Linked DNA regions of Homo sapiens: region 2 is linked to region 1. Evidence: promoter capture Hi-C in 16 types of primary human blood cells and fetal thymus (Javierre and others, 2016). All regions are on one chromosome and are shown on one strand. Each heading gives the region's core, a stretch centred on a gene start or on the middle of the fragment in contact. The rest is flanking DNA. Distances are from core to core; before and after follow the strand shown.

Region 1 (4,083 bases), core at 1,227-3,726:
CAACAAAGGCAGTGATGGTCTCTTCACCTTCCTCAAACCAGGCCAGCACCTGGGGAGCAGGGGAAAGGAGAATGACAGGTAATGAGGCCCCAAAACAGATGGAGAAAGGAAGTGGACCACTGCAAAGGGGAGAACTGTGCAGGAGAGTGCAGGAGCCAGCAGGAGGGCCGGGCACCGTCGGGGCGCTGTGGCCCCACATCCGTCTGAGGGTCTGTCCATCCACTGCAGGTCCTGCCACCGCCTTACTCAGCGGGATGGGCGCGCACAGACTTGCACCACTTGGGGGATTAGCTGGGAATGCTTTCAGGTTTCCCTGACCAAGCTGCTGGCTTAGAAGCGAAGCTCAGGCCAACCCCCCGCACAGCCACATCCATCCCACGGGAGCCAAAACCCGAGAGGAAAAACCCTGTGGTCTTCGCAGGCGGTCTGGCCCCCGCAGCCCTCCCCCTCGGCCAAGGCAGGGAAGCTCCGGTTTCACGAGGGAGCCGGAGCGGGGATAGGGTTACGGGGCCTCCTGCGCGCGCCCCGCCCCAGCTGTTGCCACCGCCAGGCAGCAGGCAAATGTCAAGGAGCAAATCTGAGAAGGGAGAGGAGAGGCCCTGCCAGCTTGTGCTTAACGCGACGGGGCCTGCGTTCGGAGACCAAGGCACAGGGAGGCTTTCGTTGCCTCCAGAGTCCCCAGCGAGGCTCACATGCTGCGGAAGAACCCGCGACATGCAGATGGACCGCGGGATGGGGAGTAGCCCCCAGGGCGGGAGAGGAGGCAGAGCCCTGGAGATGCCCTGCGGGGGTGGGGGTGCCTAGGGAGCGCGGGGAAGGGCTAAGGCCAGGCTGGGCGGGTAATGAGGGATGCCAGTGCCCTCCCTGACCGGGCGCCGGGCTCCTTGGAGTCATCATCACACCGCCGCGCTTTCCCGCCACTAGGAGCGAGTCCTCCCCTCGACCAATCAGCGTCAGGAGGCTGGGGAGGGCGGGGCAGGGGCGCCGACGGGCGCGGGGATTGGTGGAGCGGCCGTCCGCCCGGCGCATGCCGGGAGTGGCAGTGGCCCCCCGCGCCGCAGCCGGCATCGCGGCGGGACCCGGAGCCCGGAGTTCGGGTGGGTAACCCGAGCTCTCCAAGCTCTTGAAGCCGCGAGGGTGGCTTAGCTTCGGTGTTTTGGCTGAGAACACCCTTAAAGCTTAAAATAAAACCTGCCTCTGGGGTGCAGGGGAGGAGAGAGGAGGACGCGAATCACACCCGCTGCTGCGCGCCAGCCCGCCCCGTCTGTACAATGGGATGCTCGGGACTCGGACGGGAGGATCCAGTGACTGCGAGCCCCGCATTCGCCCGATCCCAGCCTCACACCCCCAGCCAGCCCCCAGAGACCCTCCCACACTTACGAAGGAAATGCATGCGGCCAGGAGGAGAATCCGCACCAGGAGGTCTTCAAACTGCTCTATCACCAGCTCCCACAGGGTCTTCCCTGGGGGAGGAGGCAAGGGGAGGGCCCCGGGTTAAGGTCTAGTGGGTGAAGGTCTGGGATGGAGCGCCCTGGACTCCGGCCTGCAGTGGGGAGGCTCTAGGGTGGTGGGCAGACAGCTTGGTGCCCAGAGAAGGGCTAAGAAGCTCGCCTGGAGTCCAGAAACAGACTCGGCAAAGTGGGGGGCAGTTCAAGGGTTGGCTGCTTCAAGGAGAAAGCGCCTGGGAGACTTCTGCCCCGGACAGGACTCTAACCTTTAGGGAGGGAGATTTGCCTTTTGGGAAGGGATATTTGCTCAAAGAATCTAAAGAGGCAGGGAGGAGGGAGTGGGACAGGGCGGGGTGGGGGGTGGTCATTTATGAGAGTTCAGGGATTCCAGTAACTTACCTTCCTCAGCAGGGAGCTCTACCCAGGAAAAAGAAGAAAAGGACAGATTCATTTGGGGTTCAGCCTCATGCCCCCCACACCCAAGACTTTGTGGCTAAGAGAATCAGGCCACCTTGAGGTTCATCAAGTTCATCCCATTAAAACCTCCCAAAACTCTGGATCTCGGGACTCTGTTTTCTCAGTATCTTCTTCCCCCTGCGAGCATTGGACAACGGCCCAGCTCTTCCTTAAGAAACCCTGAAGGGAGAAACGCGTGCATGCGTGTGCGTGTGTTTTGGGGGTGCAGGAGGGCATTAATTACCAGCCGCTCTTCCAAGGGACACTTACCATTGAGGCCGTATTTCTCCAGATTCCGCTTAACTTGGTCCGGGGTGAGGCCCGTGGTCTCACTCACCCCAAAATAGGCCAAACATTCCTCCGTGGTTTTAGCATGAGCGGCCTCCATTGTGCTCCCTTCCTGGGGGCCGGGGCCGGTGTGTTCCTTCCAGGGGGTTCCCACTCGTGGGGGGTCTTCCTCAGTGTGTCCAACTGCCTGTCTGCCTGGGTTTCTTCTTTTTACTCTCCTGCCCCCTCCAGGTTTTTCTTCCCTCCACAAAGCTCTGACCCCCGTCCCACTTGAGCAGCCGGCCACCCCCCGGCCCCCAGCTGGTCCTTATGAGGGAGCAGGGGGAGGCCGGGCTCCCCCCTCCACCAGATCAGGGATTGGCTGGCTGAGACTCCAGCAGGAGGTGGTCAGAAAAGAGAGATATTTCTGCTGACAGAGGGGGAACAGTGGGGCTGCAGCCTGAGATGTCACTCATGAGGGACGCAAAGGTAGCCCCAGCCCCAGGGAAGTGGGGTAGGGAGAGACTTCACTTTCTGTCATCTGCTACTGACCCTGCCCCCCCATTGCCTCGACTTCCCCAGCTGCATTGAATTTCCCATTCCAAACTCATCCCCCCAGTTCTTCCCGGAGCCCTCTTCCATCCCCGGCCTCACCTGTCCCTTTCCTCACACCCCCCTTCCTGCCTCATCTGCCCGGAGCCTGTTTCCATTGCCGCAGTCTCCTTCCTCCTCACCCCATTTGCTGAAGCAGTGGCAGAGATACCCCAAGCCTTTGGGGGACTGATGAAGGGAGAACATCTTTTGGGGGCTAGAGGAAGTGAGTGGCTCCTAGAGGGACAAGGGGAAGTGAGGGGAGAGAGTCAAGGGGACAGGGCCGAAGATGGTAACCCTACCCTAGGGAGGGGTTGCCACAGCCATCAACAAGGGATTTAGTGTCCAGGCCCTGGTGAGCAAAGCCAGCACTGCCTGTCTCTCCCCAAAACTGCCCCCCCCCTTCCCCATCGCTCTAACTCAGCCTCTGGGAACAGAGCCCTGAGGGCCCCCCCATCCTGGATAGGGAATCCCCACCCCACCCCCAAGAAAATGGGACACCAAGGCAGCCAAGTAACCCAAGAGGCTACAGAATGTGCTGATGGCAGAGGGGGAGGGGTAACTGTCTCAGGATGGGGGCAGGGGTCACCCCAAGTCGTGCACTGAGGGTCACCTCATCCCACACTGTGCTCTAACCAACGGGGTTTCTGTGGCCAGCCCCAGAGGCCTGTGGTCTGCGCTGCACTCTGCCCTGCTGCATCTGTCCACGAGGGGAACAGGATCAGGCCCATGCTGTGTGCGTGCAGGAGCTAGGCAGACCCCACAGAAAGGTGTCGGGGCCTGGGGAAGCTGGACCAAGCAGGGGCTCCAGACCAAAGGAATGGGGAAGGGTGGACTTCTGGGGACAGGTCTGGGGGAAATAAGGACAGATGTCTAGACCTAGGGGGAAAGGGAGCAGAGACACAGAGCCACCAGGGTCAGAGGGAAGTCCGAGCAGCAGTGGGGAAGAGGGACAGCAGGGAGCCAGGTGGGCGGGGACCCCGGCGCTGGGTGCAAAGCCACAAGTTGTTGCTGAATGCTGGCCTTGGTGTCAGCTTCCTCAGAGAAGCAGCTGCTCTGAGCTGCCCCTCCCCACCCCTGCTCCAGGATGGGGGCGTCTCTTGGTTACCACCAGGGCAGCTGCTGGAGGAGCCGAGGGAGGGTACCAGGGGTGCAGGAAGGGGAGGACAGGCAGGCAGAAAGGCTGGATGAGAGTCAGGGTGAAAGGTCAGTGAGGGGAAGGGGCCTGGTGCCCTGGGCTCAAGTCCGTCCTCTGTCTAGGCCTGTTTCCTGAAATGAGCAGAGGCATGTGGACTTCCTAAGTGTGGCTTCTTAAGGCTGC
Region 2 (3,774 bases), core at 1,191-3,690, 1.8 Mb before region 1:
GGAGGATCACGTGAGGTCAGGAGTTCGAGACCAGCCTGACCGACATGGTGAAACCCCCATCTCTACTAAAAATAAAAAATTAGCCAGGCGTGGTGGCGGGCACCTGTAAACTCAGCTACTCCGGAGGCAGAGGCAGGAGAATCGCTTGAACCTGGGAGGCAGAGGTTGCAGTAAGCCCAGATTGCACCACTGCACTCCAGCCTGGGAACAAAGCGAGACTCCGTCTCAAAAACAAAAAAACAGGTAGGTGAAGCCAGGCATAGTGGCTCACACTTTGGGAGGCCAAAGTGAGAGGATCGCTTGAGCCTAGGAATTCAAGATCAGCTTGGTATGTAACAGCGAGACCTTGTCTCCACAAAAAAATATTTTTAGGCCAGGTGCGGTGGCTCACGTCTATAATCCCAGCACTTTGAGAGGCTGGGGCGAGTGGATAACCTGAGGTCAGGAGTTCAAGACCAGCCTGGCCAACACAGCAAAACCCTGTCTCTACTAAAAATACAAAAATTAGCCAGACATAGTGGCACATGCCTGTAATCCCAGCTACTCCAGAGCCTGAGGCAGGAGAATCACTTGAGCCTGGGAGGCAGAGGTTGCAGTGAGCCAAGATTGCGCCACTGCCCTAGGTGACGGGGTGAGACTCTGTTTCACAAAAAAATTAAAAAAAAAGAAATTAAAAAGAATTTTTTTAATTAGCAAGATGTGGTAGCACGCGCCTGTAGTCCCAGATACTTGGGAGATCGAGGCAGGAAGATCGCGTGAGCCCAGGAGGTTGAGGATGCAGTGAGCTGTGATCGTACCACTGCACTCCAGCCTAGGAGACACAGCAAGACTCTGTCCAAGACAATTAAAAAATAGGTGGCTGTTCCCTAAGTACACATGAGGAAAAAAGCATTCCCAGCAGCATAAAGTCTATGTGTAAATGGACAGAGATATACAAAAGAAAGGTGGGTGTGGAGTGGAAGGGAGAAGGAATGAACATGGCAGGAGGCAAGACCGAAAATACAGACGGAAACTGGGTAGTACTTAAGAAATAATTACAACTTACTATACAGGCAGTGGGAACTTTGACGGAATTTAAGCATGTGCTAAGTGGCACAAATACATTTCAGTAAACACATGCTAAATGCCCTGCAAGGGACAGATGGCCTAGAGGTGTCAAGGAGAACTATTAACAATCCCCAAAGGCAGGACCCATATTTTGCCACTATACTTTTTTATCCATACAACATAAACGTCATTAGAGTTGCCTGAAATTATATTTACTCCCTCAAGAAGTTTTGATCATTCCTACTACCACGCCATCTACCAATCTAATCCAAGGCCATTTTCCTTTCCTGATCCCCACTGTCTACCTTCTCCACATTGCTCCAGAACTGCCTGACATCCTTGGCCATGGTGGAAGCAATTCGACGCAGCTTGGCCTGCTCCTCCCTCCGGGCCCGTTCCTCTTTCTGCCGCTGCTCCTCGTGGTGCCGGATCACCATGCGCACCACCTGTGGGAATGAAGACCCAGGGTGAAAACACTCAAAGCCAGACTTCCCCACCCAAAGGCAAAGAAAATAATCAAGGCCAAGAAATCTGGAAAATCAAGAGTTTGCTCTTAATGCCTACACCATTCTGTCTGGTCCCCTTCCAACAAACCGGGAAGGAACAGACCTGAAAAGGAAAAGGAAGGAAGTCCCAGCGGAAGACCTACCTTCCGGGCCACACCCCGTTTCCAACGGCGCTCCTGAGCAAAGTCAGCAGAGAGCCACTGCATCTCTTCGCACAAATAGTCCCAGTGACCTTTGGGGCGAGGGGGCTCTGGCACCTTAGGCAGCCTCTTCAGTGACCAGAAACCCTCCTTCCGCAGCTCAGCAATCCGAGTCTCGATCTCGGCCTCCTAATCAGGGAGAGCCAGATCAATCAACAGTTCTAAACACACACTCCATCTCACTGCCACGGCTGAATTCCTGAGCACTAAGTGGGCTGAGTGTGTTATGCTTATGTTTAGTCCACATACCAAACTTACAGGCAGGTATCATACTCTCTTCAGAGAAGGGAAAAAAGATCAGGGAGATGAAGAAGGAAAAAAGATCAGGGAGATTAAGTGATTTGCCCAAGATCACACAGCTAGAAAGTAATAGAAAATGTGAATCAAAAATAGGTCTGAGGACTCCAGACAGCAAATTTCATGCTCTTTCCATTATTTAACACAATCTCCACACCCCATAGACATAGGAGAGACTTGGGAAATCATATCCCAAGAGGAGCTTCCCAGAGGAGTAGGGAACACATACTTCCCTCTTGATTCTAGATACAAGGGGTCATCATCATTGTAGAATTCTACTTACTCAGAGTATTTTCATGATGCATTAAGCTTAGAAATATGCTATAATGCCCAACTGACACACTGTTGTTTTTAAAAATACTACTTTTGTAAAAATGCATATGTTTATGTAAAAAATACTGAAACGTTATACGTGAAATGTTTAACACTGATTAGGTGTAAAAAAGAGTGGTCATTTTTACTAAAGCTTCTACACTGATTGTCTTTTATTTAAAAAGCATTTAAAATTTTTTTGACAGAGACGACTCAAAAAATTCAGGACAACTGCCTTATTTCTTTTTCTGAATCTCACTCAGAAATCTGAGTGAGATTTTTCTGGGTCTCACTCTGCTGCCTAGGCTCAGGTTATCTTCCCAACTCAGCCTCCCAACTCAGCCTCCCAGGTAGCTGAGACTGACTATAGGCACATGCAACCATGCCCAGCTAATTTTTTTGTATTTTTCGTAGGGGCGAGGTTTCACAATGTCAAGGCTGGTCTGGAACTCCTGGGTTTAAGCAATCCGCCTGCCTGGGATTCCCAAAATGCTCAGATTATAGGCGAAAACCACCGCACCCAGCCTCTGTCTTTGTTATTTCTGTCCTCTCCTGATAAAAACTAAATCAGAGAAAATGACAGCCAGAGACCAGACAGGACTAAATGGCCTGACAGTGAAGGAAACATCAAGAAAGACGTGGATATTAGACCAGCTGCTCTCAAACTTGAGGAGGCACCGGAATCATCTGGAGGACTTTTAGAAACAGGTTGTGCTCACACCTGTAATCCCAGCACTTTGGGAGGCCAAGGCGGGTGGATCACAAGGTCAGGAGATCGAGACCATCTTGGCTAAAACGGTGAAACCCCGTGTCTACTAAAAACACAAAAAATTAGCCAGGCATAGTGGCGAGCGCTTAGTCCCAGCTACTCGGGAGGCTGAGGCAGGAGAATGGCGTGAACCCAGGAGGCGGAGCTTGCAGTGAGCCGAGATCATGCCACTGCACTCCAGCCTCAGCGAAAGACTGAGACTCCGTCTCAAGGAAAAAAAAAAAAACCCAATTGTGGCCGGGCGCAGTGGCTCATGCCTGTAATCCCAGCACTTTCAGAGGCCGAGGCTGGCAGATCACAAGGTCAAGAGATCAAGACCATCCCGCCAACATGGTGAAACCCCATCTCTACTAAAAATACAAAAAATTTAGCCGGGTGTGATGGCGGGCGCCTGTAGTCCTAGCTACTCAGGAGGCTGAGGCCAGAGAATGGCTGTGAACCCGGGAGGCGGAGCTTGCAGTGAGCCAAAATTCTGCCACTGCACTCCAGCCTGGGCGACAGAGCGAGACTCCGTCTCAACAAAATAAATAAATAAAATAAAAATAAAAATAAAAAATAAAAACATTGCTGGGCCCTACCCTCATAGTTTCAAATGGGTCGGTGGGTGAGAGGTACCAAGAATTTGCATTTTTTTTTGAGACAG

Evidence for each region. Contacts are between HindIII fragments. The CHiCAGO score rates a contact against its expected background, and 5 or more counts as called.
Region 2: a contact is called between a fragment that was not itself captured here and the fragment with the promoter of ATP2A1 in region 1, in 1 of 17 cell types (total B cells). The highest score is 5.0, in total B cells.

What each region holds. Positions count from the first base shown.
Region 1 is chr16:28,876,881-28,880,963 of GRCh38, reverse strand. It overlaps ATP2A1 (ATPase sarcoplasmic/endoplasmic reticulum Ca2+ transporting 1), which reads right to left and starts at 2,476. Exons shown (of 23, transcript NM_004320.6): 1 at 2,175-2,476; 2 at 1,848-1,865; 3 at 1,381-1,463; 4 at 1-49. The coding sequence starts at 2,292. It overlaps ATP2A1-AS1 (ATP2A1 antisense RNA 1), which reads left to right and starts at 1,043. Exons shown (of 2, transcript NR_046290.1): 1 at 1,043-1,422; 2 at 1,860-2,007. RefSeq lists silencers at 827-1,176, 1,197-1,246 and enhancers at 1,317-2,090, 3,336-3,425, 3,436-3,505. The HindIII fragment of the contact is 4,054 bases long and covers 1,181-4,083 here.
Region 2 is chr16:30,705,291-30,709,064 of GRCh38, reverse strand. SRCAP (Snf2 related CREBBP activator protein) reads right to left here. Exons shown (of 34, transcript NM_006662.3): 5 at 1,697-1,882; 6 at 1,353-1,493. Among named protein-coding and RNA genes, the nearest start is that of SNORA30, 3.4 kb to the left of the region's middle. The HindIII fragment of the contact is 157 bases long and covers 2,362-2,518 here.